Regions from separate parts of the Homo sapiens genome. Here region 1 is linked to region 2. Evidence: promoter capture Hi-C in 16 types of primary human blood cells and fetal thymus (Javierre and others, 2016). All regions are on one chromosome and are shown on one strand. Each heading gives the region's core, a stretch centred on a gene start or on the middle of the fragment in contact. The rest is flanking DNA. Distances are from core to core; before and after follow the strand shown.

Region 1 (7,032 bases), core at 4,461-6,960, 180 kb before region 2:
CAAGGATAATTCAACTTGATTCCTGGCTCATTTTTTTTCCACTGGTTTCTCAAGTGTGTGCCTCTTTTGGTCTCTCGTCTCCCAGGTGTGTCTCTTGGCTTCTCTCAGGCTCACACATCCATTGAGTACCTATTGTGTGTGTCCTCATGCCTGGGGCTGGGCACACTCCCTATCCCACCCAGCGCGTGGGTGCTGAGATGCGTGGGGAAATGGAGGAGCGAGGGAGGGGACCCCACAATCTCTCCTCGTGGCCTGGAAATCCTTCTATCTGGAGTCTAACCTCCATTCCTCCCAACACCCCCCTCGGGGTGAGCACAAGGGTCTGATTCTTTTCTTGATAAGGGGAAGGTGCCCAAATTGTTTCTCCCCTGCCTATCTACCTAAAAGCCCACCTAGCAATGTCTTCACGGACGCTGTCCACACCCATGGAGCGGATTATTTAACAAGAGGGTAATCGTGTGGGCTCAGGAGCCGGACTGCCTCGGTTCAGTCCCACCTCTGTCACTCTCGAGCTTGAGCAAGTGATTTAACTTTTCTGCGCCTCAGTTTCCCCATCCATAAAATGAGGTAACAATACCATGCTCTAGTAGGGAGGAGGCAGAGGGGGTTAAATGCCTTAGTCTGTGCTGTGTGATTGAAACAGCACCTCTCAAATTAGCACGTAATGAATGATCACTGTTATCATAATGACTATTTTATTATTTTTGATCCCAGCTTCCCTGTGAACTCCTACAGATCTGAGAACTTGGGGGTGCTCTCACTCCCAAGATGGAGGAGGAGAGGGGCTTTCCAATAGCAAAAGAGAGCGTGGACGCCCCACATTTTGCAAGCCTCCCTGAGCCTGCCCAAGAGAAAGGTGCCATGGGGAGGGAGACCCGCTTCTGTAAGGGTATGAATGGCGTGTGCGGTTGTGAGCAAGGCACCAAGATACACACACACACGTGCATGGATGGACACGTTTGCACACACAGCGCTTGCACACACACACACCCTTTTAGAGTGATTTACCCAAAGGTACAGAATAGCACACGCTCACTCCAAGGCTCTCACACGGCCACACACCTGGCCACACACGTATTGTACAACACCCAGTCATCTGGAGCCAGTAATGAGGACACGGTCACACACAGACTCTGTCTCACGTACTGATCACACCCCAACTCGGGCACTAGTTGGACAAGCCCCCCAACCGCCACACACACAAACTCCCCCCGGTCACACCCAACCACGACACAAAGACACACACGTTTACCCTGCACCCCCACAGCATTTCACACGCGTCCCCGTCAGTCACTCTCACGTGAGTCCCGTCCCCTGCCCCACACTGGGGGCTGCAGGCGAGGAGTGGAGGGCTTCAGAAACTGGGCATCTCGGCCCCGAAGAGGAAGTCAAGGGTAAGCAACCGCCCCCCTCCAATGCCCCCTGAAGTTTCCCTCCCAACCCCATTCAGCTCCAGCGAGATGGCGGGGTGGGGGCTCGGGGCCATGGAGGGGTTGAGAACCCCAAAGACGCCACCCCCCAAACCAGCCCAGCTTGAGGCTGGATTTGAAGCCCCCCTCGTCCTCTCCCAAGCCAGAGAGTGCACGTCCCGGCCCCTCCCCCGCTGCGACCCCCGCCCCTCGCCGCCCTGCAGCTGGGGGGGCTTGTGGAGCCTCCCAACCCCGTTTCTCCGGGAACCCTCCGCGCCCCCCTCCTCTCCCGGAGCCACCCGCGCCCGCACCTGCCCGCCGGGCCCCTACCTGTCCGGCCAGGCCTGAGCACAGCAGCAGCAGCAGCGGCGGCGGGACCGTGAGCGGCCACATGACGCGCCCCTAGCCCGGCGTCCCGACCCCCGCCCGCCCTAGCGGCGCCTCGGCGCGGGGACCGCCACCAGGCGCGACCCCGCCCGCCCGGCCGGGGCGACCCTGCGCCGCCGCCTCCCCCGCCTCGCCGGCGGCCGGGATTCCGCCCCACCCCCGCCCCCTCGCTCGCTCCGAGTCTTTGTTGCGGGCTCCGCCCCCCGCCCCGCCCCCAGCTCCTCTTCGGGAGCAGCTCGAGCAGGGTCGGGTGGGGGGGTGGGGGCGGGGAAGTGGGGGAGCCAGCGCCGGCGAGGGGACCTGAGGACAGGACTTGGCAGCGCCCCCCAACCCCCAGGCCATTCCGGGAGCGGGTCGCGGAGGTGGGGGAGGGGTGCCCGTCACGTGTTTGTAAATTTCACCCTCCGGGGGCATTTCCCACGTTGCAGGTGGGACGGGGACGAATGGTTGGGGGAGAGGAATAGGAGGAAGGCCTGGTAGCAGAGAGGGGAAATGATGAACGCCCCCTCCCTAAAAACTCAAGAGTCAACAGGGAAACTGAGGCAGAATCTGAAATTGGAAGTTGGAGGAGGGGTCAATGCCAGGACAAGAGGGGTGAGGCATAGATGGAGACGGGGAATAAGAGGAAAAAATTGAGGTTGGGGGGACAGGAGACCGAGAATCAGGCAAGAGGCCAATGGAAATGGCCACGTGGGTGGGCTTGGCCTCAAAAAGGGGCGTCTCGTTTTCACTCTCCCCGGGCGCCCCATTTCCCCACCAGTCCTCCCGCTGGAAGCCTCCCCGCCTCCGCCACACCTGGAAGAGTTTCTCTTCGCTCCCTGTTTCAATAGCCCAAGATGAAAGACCACATCCCCCGAGAGAATCAAAATATTAACACCGCCTCCACGCGAAGCCATTTGCATATGAAGGGCGTCCTTGTCTAGCCTCACTTTCGGGAGGCTTTCCAGCCTTTCTCTGCCTCTCACTCCTCCAAAAGTCTCCCTAGGCCGGGCGCGGTGGCTCACGCCTGTAATTCCAGCAATTTGGGAGGCTGAGGAGGGTGGATCATCTGAGGTCAGGAGTTCAAGACCAGCCTGGCCAACATGGCAAAACCCCACCTCTACTAAAACATACAAAAATTAGCCGGGCGTGGTGGTGCATGCCTGGAATCCCAGCTACTCGGGAGGCTGAGACAGGAGAATCGCTTGAACCCGGGAGGCAGAGGTTGCAGTGAGCAGAGATCGTGCCATTGCACTCCAGCCTGGGCAACAGGAGCAAACCTTGTCTCAAAAAAAAAAAAAAAAAAAAAGTGTCCCTAGTCGTCTTTCCTCCCCACAGCCCCTCTAGGGATTCGGATATATGTAGGCAGAGGTGGAGGAGGGGGGCGGGCAAATAAGTCAGATTGGAAAGAAATCGGGCATAAAATATGCGAGGCCAGGAAGCCTGGCATTTTTGTGACCCTGATACTGTTGGGCTAGGAGGGGTCTCCCCAGACGCTGGTGGGGCCTCGACCCCAGCTGGTGTCCAGGCTCTTAACACCATCGCAAGAATGAATTCAAGGAGGAATCAGAAAATCATGAAAAGTTCGGAGATTTTTTTGTTAAGGGAAAAGTCCACACTTGAGAAAAGGGAGTGGGCGTACTTAAGAGAGAGAGATGGGCAAGGTGGTTTGGGACTGCTACCTTTATGTGTCTCTTTTTTTTTTTTTTTTTTTTTTTTTTTGAGACAAAGTCTCGCTCTGTCACCCAGGCTGGAGTGCAGTGGTGTGATCTCGGCTCACTGCAACCTCTGCCTCCCAGGTTCAAGCAATTCTCCTGCCTCAGCCTCCTGAGTAGCTGGGATTACAGGTGTGCGCCATCACAGCCGGCTAATTTTTTGTGTTTTTAGTAGAGACAGGGTTTCACCATATTGGCCAGCCTGGTCTCAAACTCCTGACCTCGTGATCCACCCGCCTTGGCCTCCCAAAGTGCTGAGATTACAGGCGTGAGCCACCACAACAGGCCACTGTGTATCTCTTTAACCAAGGGATGGAATATTCATGAAAACTGGAAAAAGGTGGACTGTGGTGCCACCCACTTTTACACCAAATTTGGGTGTCCCTGGAATTGTCAAGGGCGCTGGTGGGTGGGTAATTTTAGTATTTTAATGAGTACATAATGAGATCCTAGGTGAAACCTAGGTAGAATGTAACGCCATGTTGGGTCCAGTAGGTCTTAGCCAGCTTGGTCCACACCCTGGTTTTCAGGATCTTATCAGCCCATAGCCTCTAGTCATGTGAAACGGCTGCCTGTGACCACCCTGGATCATTCCTGTCTCAACCCTACTGGGGATAAAACATGTCGATGATGGTTTTGTCAGGTCAATGAGAAAGAGCTTGGTGACCCACAGATCTGGGTTCAACCCTGGTGCTGCCACTTCTTGGCCATGTGACCTTAGGGAAAAAGCTTTCCCCCTCTTAGAAGACCTGTTTTTTGCAGTTATTGGGAGACATCTGTGACTCTAAGCAAAGAGAGCACCTAGCTAGCACTCACTCCCCAGCACGCCTTGCAATAACCAACCATGCACTGGGTTGAGGACACTCATCATGGGATGTGGACACAAAATAGAGTCTGAGCCTGCGAAGACATCCTGTTTATTCTTCTATCTCTTTTTTTTTTTTTTTTTTTTGAGATGGAGTCTCACACTGTCACACCCAGGCTGGAGTGCAGTGGCTTGATCTCGGCTTACAACCTCTGCCTTCCGGGTTCAAGGAATTCTCCCGCCTCGGCCTTCCAAGTAGCTGGGATTGCAGGTGCCTGCCACCAGGCCTGTCTAATTTTTCATATTTTTAGTAGAGATGGGGTTTCACCATATTGGCCAGGCTGGTCATGAACTCTTGACCTCAGGTGATCCACCTGCCTCAGCCTCCCAAAGTGCTGGGATTACAGGCATGAGCCACCGCACCCATCCTATTCTTCTATCTCCTTTTCCCAAATGGGAGACAGTCCTTTGTGGGCCCTTCAGGCCAAGCCTGCAGTTGGCATTGCATAAAAGGAGGACATTGGTTGGTAGGACCCACAAGCTCTTGACCAAGAGTGGGTCTCACGGTCAAGAGTCAGCACTCTTGACTCATGAATGCTGCATTTCAGGACCATGAACAGTGTCCTCCTTGGGCTCTGGTCACTAAGACGATCACAGTTACAACTAAGCTACAGCCTGTGTTATATGGTTGGAATTTGGTCGATATGCACTTAGATCTATTCCCCACTTTCCCCCTGCTCCCCTCTGTATCAGGGCAATGGCTCCTGCAAATTATCTTTCTCAGGTTCTCTACACACTACATTTCCCAGGCTTCTTTGCATCTGGTTAGGCTCAGCCAATGGGAGGTCTACAGGCAGATTGGAGGGTGCCAAGAAAGGAGAAGCCAGAGAATTTCCCCCCCTCCACTTTGAGTGTCTCTAGCCATGGCTGCTGTGCCTCCTCTGTGGTCTCAGTCCCATTAGGTATTCCCCACCATGGTGGGGGGTGGGGGCAGGTGACTGGCCAGGTAACTGCAGCTCCTGGATTCAGGTAACTACCACCTCCCTTTGTTGTTTCAGTCCTTGCAAAGATGATAGCTAGCAACTAGAGTTGATTCACCTGCTCCAGTTTGCGCTTAAAACCAACCTAATAGGGCCAGGTGCGGTGGCTCATACCTGTAATCCCAGCACTTTGGGAGGCTGAAGTGGGTGGATCACCTGAGGTCAGGTGTTTGAGACCAGCCTGCCCAACAAGGCAAAATGCTGTCTCTACTAAAAATACAAAAAATTAGCCAGGCATGGTAGCAGGTGTCTGTAATGCCAGCTACTGAGGAGGCTGAGGCAGAAGAATCGCTTGAACCCAGGAGGTAGAGATTGCAGTGAGCTGAGATCATGCCATTGCACTCCAGCCTGGGCAACAATAGTGAAACTCTGTCTCAAAAAAGAAAAAAACAAAAACAAAACCTACCTATCGGCTGAGTGCCATGGCTAACACTTCTAATCCCAACACTTTGGGAGGCTGAGGCAGGTGGATTGTTTGAGCCAAGGAGTTCAAGACCAGCCTGGCCAACATCTCTGTAGAGATGCTGCATCTCTACCAAAAATACAAAAATGAGCCAGGCATGGTGGTGCACACCTGTAGTCTCAGCTACTCAGGAGGCTGAGGTGGGACGATCATCTGAGCCTGAGAAGGTCGAGACTGCAGTGAGCTATGATTACTCCACTGCACTCCAGCCTGGGCAACAGAGTGAGACCCTGTCTCAAAAAACCCCACAAAAGCAAACAAACAAACAAACCTACCTACCTAATACCTCAGTGTGTGGCTAATTAAAGTCCCCATATTAAATTCTTTCTATTGAATTTGCTGGGATGGGCTGTTTTTCTGACTGGACCTTAGTCAATGCATTCGATGCCGTTGGTCGTTGACTGGTATGGTTAGTGGCCCTCTGGGTGTCCTGATGGCATTGTGGTTTGTGTCCTGTTGAACCGGGATCTGTGCTGCCGTCAACATCCTGGTTCTGCCAGGGTCAGCATTGTGGTCAGAATTGTGGTCACTCCTGGTCATTCTTGGTTGTGTTGTGGTCAGTGTGGTGATTAGTACTACAGTCAGTTTCCTGGTTATGCTGTGCTCTGTCCTAGTGCTATGGTCCTTGTCCTGAGCTTGCTGTGGATAATGACCTGGCCAAGCTATGGTCAAAATTATGATTGAGTCATACTAAGGTCAAAGTCACACTCAGCATCCTAGTTGCACTGATATCAGCTTCAAGGTCAGCACTGTGGTTAATGTTAAGAAGAGTGCACTGTCTATGGTGCAGTGGTCAGAATTGTGGGCCATCATTGAAGAGACATCAGGATCCGCTTCTCAAGGATCTATTGTGGCAAAATGGATGAACTGGGGACTCAGGGTCTGGCACTGGGCACAGGTCATTCTCCATGACAGGAAGCAGGGAGGCAGGGCGTTGGATCTTGCCATCTGGCCATTGGGTTTTTCTAATTGGCACTTGGACAGCCAATTAGACAGGAACTTGGACAGCCATGGGTTCCTGTCACCCTCTCACAGCCCACATCTGTTTCCTCACACCCTGCACCACCCACTTCATAGAGAAAATGATCATGAAGTGAATGCCTGCCAACACATACCTTTGCTCTTGCTAATCCCTGAATATATTATTTAGAGGTCCTTTGGTAGAATTTAGCAGAAACTCAACTTGAACTGGATTAAGAAAAAAAATCTATTGGCTCATATAACTTAAACAAAA
Region 2 (7,554 bases), core at 1-2,500:
TGGGGAAGAAGAGCCTCACCTTCCTCCTTGCGACAGCCTTTGAAGCCTTCCGGGTCTCAATCCTGAAGGTGCGGACAATCTGAGGATGGGAGGGGAGAAGGGTCAGGCTCCTGGGACCAAGGGATCTCCTTTATCAACCTCCTCAACACACCCCACCCCATTCCGGTCTATGGGCCCCCAAGCACAAGGGTCCCCACTCCCTGCACCCCCCACCCTCACCTTGAACTTCTTGCCATCCTCATCTATCTTGTACTCTGTCACTGTCTTTATGTTTCCGTTGATGACCTCCTTGGGAGGCGGCAGTGGAGCTGGCAGAAGGGGAAAAACAGAGAAAGACTGAGCCCTGGGTCATGGGGATCAGGAGCGGCAGGGCTGGAGGGAGAGGCAGCCCGGACACCGAGTGGCAGTCCTCACTCACCTCCCGGCAGTCCTCACTCACCTCCCGGCAGTAGCTCTGGCTCTGGGCTGGTGTCACCTGTGGCCAGAGGGATCCCCTTGAGGAGCTCGCTGGTGACACATTTGTCTGCAAAAGGCAGCGTAGGAAGGAGGAGTCAGCTCCAGGGGCAGGAGCTCCCCAGCTGCGATGGAAGGGCTTTTGGGATGACGCCTACAGCAAAAGCGGAGAAAGGCAGGCCAAGGGCAGAGGGCTGGCCAGGCAACGCACTGGGATGGCCCTGTGGGGACTCGGAGTGGCAAGGATGGGAGATCCCTCGTAGGAAGGTGGGTGCCAGGCCATGAAGCCAACCAGGCGCCAGTAGAGAAACAGGAGACGGGAGATTACAACTTCCTCCCTGGAGGGGAACAGCTGGGAGGCAGTGGCATGGGAGGAAGAGGGACCCGCCGGGGAACACCTGGAGTTGGCAACAGGCGGGTCCCAAGGAGGATGGCGCGGGGCAGGGGCAGACCGTGACGGGGTACACGGTGCCAGACTGGGAGATGGAAGCAGGCGGCAGTCACACGGCTTGGGCCTGGCCGCGAATACCCCGGGCGACCGTGTACACTTACCGTCCTCCCCCTCCTCCTCCACCTGGTCGGCCCAACTGGGCTTCGAACTGCGGAAACAAATGTGTGGGGAACGAAGATTAAGTCAGCCAGGCCCGGCTCCCGCAGCCTCGGCGTACCCAGGCCCCATAATACTTCCCAGAGCACCCCAACCGCTTCCCGTGCCCCTTTCCGCGATCGCCGACTCACTCAAAGTCTCCAGTAGGCATCGCAAAAAGTATTCTCCACGCAGCCCAAGCCCGGCCAGAGAGCGGAAGCGGGCGAAAACGAGACTTCCGGTGCCGCCGTCGCCGCCTAGAGGGGCCCAGCCGCGGCACCCACAGCGACACCTGCGGACGGAGGTGGAGGCGCACGCGGCTGTGTATGCTACTGGGCGCTGCTGGTACCAGAGTAGGGCCAGCGGGGGCAGAGGCTGATTTCAGGGCTGGTCCTATTAACCTTTAAAATTAAAATAGGCCAGGCGAGGTGGCTCAAGCCTGTAATCCTCGCACTTTGGGAGGTCGAGGCGGGCGGATCACCTGAGGTAAGGAGTTCGAGACCAGCTTGGCCAACGTGGCGAAACCCCGTCACTACTAAAAACACAAAAATTAACTGGGCGTGGTAGTGCGTGCCTGCAGTTCCAGCTACTCGGGAGGCTGAGGCAGGAGAATCGCTTGAACCCGGGAGGCGGAGGTTGCAGTGAGCCGAGATCGCGCCACTGCACTCCAGCCTGGCGACAGAGCGAGACACCGTCTCAAAAAAAAAAAAAAAAAAAAAATTAGCCAGGCGTGGTGGTGGGCACCTGTAATCCCAGCTACTCGGGAGGCTGAGGCGGGAGAATCGCTTGAACCCAGGAGGCGGAGGCTGCAGTGAGCCGAGATCGCACCACTGCACTCCAGCCTGGGGCTGCAGAGTGAGACTCCGTCTCAGAAAAATAAGTAAAATTAAAATAAATAATAATAATCATAAAGCTCACTTATTGAGTGCTTATTGTATATGAAGCATGGTGAGGAGGATATTACTTCCATTTTACAGCTGAAGAAACTGAGGCTCAGACTGGGTGCAGTGGCGCCTGCCTGTAATCCCGCACTTTGGGAGACCAAGGCGTGGGGATGGCTTGAGGCCAGGAGTTTGAGACAAGCCTGGGCAACATAGTGAGACCCCTGTCTCTAAAAAAGAAAAAAAGAAAAAGAAAGAAAAAAGAAACCAAAGTTCGGGGAAAACAATCCTTTTGCTTAAACTGTTCCTTGTCTTCTTTCCCGATCCCAATGATTCAGATGCCAAGTGGCCTCCCCTCAGCCACTCCCTCTTCTTTTCTTTGTAGCATTCTTGGCTTTCCGGTATAATTTTGTGCATTTACTTGTTTATTGCTCAGCTCCTTGCTCTAAGCACAACCGTCCTCAGTCGAAGTGATTCATGATGACTCCCCAGGGGAAAAAACTGGTCCTCAGGGAGGAAAAAAATCTTAGATATTGTGGTCTTCCAAAGCCAGCTCTATCAGACAGCATTTATCCCTAAGTATTTAGTTTCTGCCTTTAGGGAGATATTAAATGTAATTAAATTGAAATTAATTTAGTTGATGTAAATTCAATTTTAGGATAATTCGGGTTTTCTCCTAAGAAGGGTGATAATGAACAAAAAACGTTTGACAATGTCGGACGCAGTGGCTCACGCCTGTAATCCCAGCACTTTGAGAGGCCAAGATGGGCAGATCTCTTGAAGTCAGGAGTTCGAGACCAGCCTGGGCAATATGGCGAAACCCCGTCTTTACTAAAAATACAAAAATTAGCTGGGTGTGGTGGCCCGCGCCTGTAATCCCAGAACTTTGGGAGACTGAGGCAGAAGGATCACTTCAGCCCTGGAATTCGACCAGCCTGGGCAACACATAGTGAGACCCCCCATCTCTAAAAAACAACTTTTTTTTTTTTTTTTGAGATGGAGTCTCACTCTGTCGCCCAGGCTGGAGTGCAGCGGCGCAATCGCGGCTCACTGCAACCTCTGCCTTCCGGGTTCTAGTGATTCTCCTGCCTCAGCCTCCCGAGTAGCTGGGATTACAGATGACCACCACCACGCCGTGCTAATTTTTGTGTTTTTAGTAGACGGTTTAGTAGAGACGGGGGCCCACCTCGGCCTCCCAAGGTGCTGGGATTACAGGTGTGAGCCACTGCGCCCGGCCCTTAAAAAAATTTTTTTTTTTTAATCAGCTGGGCATAGTTCTGTGTGCCTGTAGTCCCAGATACTCAGGAGGCTGAGGTGGGAGAACAGCTTCAGCCCAGGAGGTTGAGCCATGATCATGCGACTGTACTTCAGCCTGGGTAACAGAGAGAGACCCTGTCTCAAAAACACACACACGCACACACACACACGCAACAAAACAAAAAATAACTTGTAAGGGAGAATGCCCTGAGAAAAATAAATAAGAAGACAGGAAAAAAAAGTTTATGCTTTTTTATCCTCTGAGTTGTGAGTGAGGAGGCCACTCAAGTGTTTGGAATATCACCAACTTTTCTTGTGGAAAAAATTATTCTAGAAGCCTGTAGAGAGCCAAGTGGAAGGGAAAACATTAGCTGGAGAGCAGGAAAGAGAGGCACGCCGCTGTGGCCTTTCAGGAGGGTGGCCTGGCTATATTGGTGAAAATATGAAGCTGGTCCAAAGGACTGATAAACATTTTTACAAGCTTACTCAAATGTACTCTGAGCAACACAAAATCCAAACAACCCAGCAGATTGGGCAAAGCTTCAAAAATTCGATATCACCCCGTGGTAGTAAAGATGTTATAGGGAAACAGGCTGGGCACCTGTAATCGGGAGGCCGAGGTGGGTGGATCACCTGAGGTTAGGAGTTCAAGACCAGCCCCTGGCCAACATGGTGAGATGCCGTCTCTACTAAAAATACAAAAAAAAAAAAAAAAAAATCTGGCCATGGTGGTGGGTGCCTGTAATCCCAGCTACTTGGGAGGCTGAGGCAGGAGAATCGCCATTGCACTCCAGCCTGGGCGACAGAGCAAGACTCCATCTCAAAAAAAAAAAAAAAAAAAAGAGGAAGCGATATATAAAATGGCATATATTACAGGAACCAATTTGTGTAAATCTTCAACAGCACATAGATATGCAGATATATGCAAATCATTTCCTGGAAAGAAAGAATCAGAACCTGTTAATGAGGAATGCTTTGGAAAGAAGGCACCAAGAAAGGAAATATTATTTTTGGACATGTATTAATATATAATATGCATTTATGTAATATATGTGAGATGTAACATATAAATATATTTCTTGGCTGGGCACTGTGGTTCGTGCCTATAATCCCAGCAGTTTTGGAGGCCAAGGCAGAAAGATTTCTTGAGCCCAGGAGTTCAAGACCAGACTAGGCAACATCATTGAGACCCCATCACTACACACAAAAAATTGCTGGGTGTGGTAATGCACGCCTGTAGTCCCAGCTACCTGGGAGGCTGAGGTAGGAGGATTGCTTGAGCCCAGGAGGTCAAGGCTGCAGTGAGCTATGATTGTGCCATTACACTCTGGCCTGGGTGACAGAGCAAAAACCCTGTCTCTAAAAAAGAAAGAGGCTGAGCACAGTGGCTCACGTCTGTAATCCCAGCACTTTGGGAGGCCAAGGCAGGCAGATGACCTGAGGTCAGGAGATCAAGACCAGCCTGGAAAACGTGGTGAAAACCCATCTCTATTAAAAATACAAAAATTACCTGAGCATGTTGGTGCATGTCTGTAATCCCAGCTACTCAGGAGGCTGAGGCAGGAGAATCGCTGGAGCCCAGGAGGTGAGGCTGCCATGAGCCAAGTGCTGGGATTACACAGGTGTGAGCCACATCAAGGTTTGGGTGCAAGAGTACATCTGGTTATAGATTACAGAAGCATAATACCCTGACCCCATTAGATGTTATTTTATGTGTAGGAAAAGGTTTGAACCAGGTCCTTTTTTTTTTTTTTTTTTTTGAGATGGAGTCTCACTCTGTTGCCCAGGCTGGAGGGCAGTGGCACAATCTCGGCTCACTGCAAGCTCCGCCTCCTGGGTTCACGCCATTCTCCTGCCTCAGCCTCCTGAGTAGCTGGGACTACAGGCACCCGCCACCACGCCCAGCTAATTTTTGTATGTTTAGTCGAGATGGGGTTTCACCGTGTTAGCCAGGATGGTCTTGATCTCCCGACCTTGTGATCCGCCCACCTTGGCCTCCCAAAGTGCTGGGATTACAGGTGTGACCCACCCGTGCCCGGCCCAGGTCCTTTTTTTCTTTTTTCTTTTTTTTTTGGGGGACGGAGTCTTGCTCTATTGCCCAGGCTGGAGTGCAGTGGTGCGATCTCAGCTCACTGCAACCTCCGCCTCCTGGGTTCAAGCGGTTCTCCCGCCTCAGCCTCCTGAGTAGCTGGGATTACAGGCATGCACACCACCACACCCGGCTAATTTTGTATTTTTAGTAGAGACGGGGGTTTCTCCATATTGGTCAGGGTAGTCTCGAACTCCCGACCTCAGGTGATCCGCCTGCCTGGGCCTCCCAAAGTGCTGGGATTACAGGCATGAGCCACCGCACCTGGCACGCCTTTTTTTTTTTTTTTTTTTTTTTGAGACAGGGTCTTTCTCTGTCACCCAGGCTGGAGTGCAGTGGCACGATCACAGCTCACTGCAGCCTCAACCTCCCCAGGCTAAGGTGATGCCCTTGCCCTGGTCTCCCAAAATGCTGGGATCACAGGCATGAACCACCGTGCCCAGACTCATTTAAGGAATATAGTGACTCGGGCAAGGGACATGGTGTGCCCTGTGCTCTGTCCTGTTTTGTCTTCAAAGCCTTGTTCTGTAGAGCTGCGCAGACGTGTCTCACGTGTCTCAGAGTCAGGGGCTTTGTGAAATTACGCTGGAAAGCAGAATTGAGCAAACCCAGCTTAACATTAGTTACTTTTTCTCACATTTTCACAACAAAATATCACAGACTAGGAGGCTTAAACAGCACACATTTATTTTCTCAGTTCTGGAGGCTGGAAGTCCAAGATCACAGTGTCGGCAGGGTTGGTTTCTTCTGAGGTGGGGGCACCTTCTCCCTCGGTCCTCACGTGGCCTCCTCTGTGTGTGTCTATGTCCCAATCTCTTCTTCTAAGGACATCAGTCATATTGGATTAGGGCCCACCCTAATGACCTCATTTAAACTTTTTTTTTTTAATTATTTTTTTTAAAGGTGAAGTCTCACTCTGTAGTCCAGGCTGGAGTGCAGTGGTGCAATCTCAGCTAATGGCAACCTCCACCTCCTGGGTTCCAGTGATTCTCCTGCCTCAGCCTCCCGAGTAGCTGGGTCTACAGGCATGTGCCACCACACCTGGCTAATTTTTGTATTTTTGTATTTCTAGTAGAGACGGGGTTTCACCAAGTTGGCCAGGCTGGTCTCAAACTCCTGATCTCAAGTGGTTTGCCTGCCACGGCCTCCCAACGTGCTGGGATTACAGGCATAAGCCACCACACCTGGGTTTAATTTTCTCTCTAAAGGTCCTGTTTCTGCTGGGCACAGTGGATCACGTCTGTAATCCCAGCACATTGGGAGGCCAAGGTGGGCGGATCCCTTGAGGTCAGGAGTTCGAGACCAGCCTGGCCAACATAGCGAAACCCCTGTTGTCTACTACAAATACAAAAATTAGCCAGGTGTGGTGGCAGGCATCTGTAATCCCAGCTGCTCGGGAGGCTGAGGCATGGCAATCCCTTGAACCCGGGAGGCAGAGGTTGCCATGAACCAATACTGCGCCACTGAACTCCAGCCTGGGCGATGGAGTGAGACTCCTTTTTTTTTTTTGAGATGGAGTTTTGCTCTTGTTGCCCAGGCTGGAGTGCAGTGGCATGATCTTAGCTCACCGCAACCTCCACCTCCCGGGTTCAAGTGATTCTCCTGCCTCAGCTTCCCTAGTAGCTGGAATTACAGGCATGTGCCACCATGCCCAGCTAATTTTGTATTTTTAGTAGAGACGGGGTTTCTCCATGTTGGCCAGGCTAGTCTTGAACTCCAAACTCAGGTGATTCGCCTGTCTTGGCCTCCCAAAGTGCTAGGATTATAGGTGTGAGCCGCCGCACCCGGCCAAGACTTTGTAAAAAAAAATAAAAATAGGCCATGCGCGGTGGCTCACACCTGTAATCCCAGCACTTTGGGAGGCCGAGGTGGGAGGATCACTTGAGGTCAGGAGTTCGAGACGAGCCTGGCCAACATGATGATACCCCATCTCTACTAAAAATACAAAAATCAGCTGGGTGTGGCCAGGCATGGTGGCTCACGCCTGTAATCCCAGCACTTTGGGAGGCCAAGGTAGGTGGATCACCTGAGGTTGGGAGTTCGAGACCAGCCTGACCAACATGGAGAAACCCTGTCTCTCCTAAAAATACAAAATTAGCTGGGCGTGGTGGCGCATGCCTGTAATCCCAGCTACTCAGGAGGCTGAGGCAGGAGAATCGCTTGAACCCAGGAGGCAGAGGTTGTGGTGAGCCGAGATCCTGCCATTGCAGTCCAGCCTGGGCAACGAGAAGGTAACTCTGTTTCAAAAGAAAAAAAAAAAAAACAGCTGGGCGTGGTGGTGCGTGCCT

The links. Contacts are between HindIII fragments. The CHiCAGO score rates a contact against its expected background, and 5 or more counts as called.
Region 1: a fragment that was not itself captured here is called in contact with the fragment with the promoter of EIF3G in region 2 in 3 of 17 cell types (naive B cells, endothelial precursors and total B cells); the score reaches 5.3 in naive B cells.

What each region holds. Positions count from the first base shown.
Region 1 is chr19:9,934,565-9,941,596 of GRCh38, forward strand. It overlaps OLFM2 (olfactomedin 2), which reads right to left and starts at 1,951. Exons shown (of 6, transcript NM_058164.4): 1 at 1,740-1,951. The coding sequence starts at 1,802. RefSeq lists enhancers at 1,207-1,801, 2,468-2,970. The HindIII fragment of the contact is 2,986 bases long and covers 4,218-7,032 here.
Region 2 is chr19:10,118,649-10,126,202 of GRCh38, forward strand. It overlaps EIF3G (eukaryotic translation initiation factor 3 subunit G), which reads right to left and starts at 1,251. Exons shown (of 11, transcript NM_003755.5): 1 at 1,192-1,251; 2 at 1,006-1,052; 3 at 440-523; 4 at 220-308; 5 at 20-79. The coding sequence starts at 1,211. RefSeq lists enhancers at 1-753, 754-1,509. The HindIII fragment of the contact is 4,736 bases long and covers 1-3,656 here.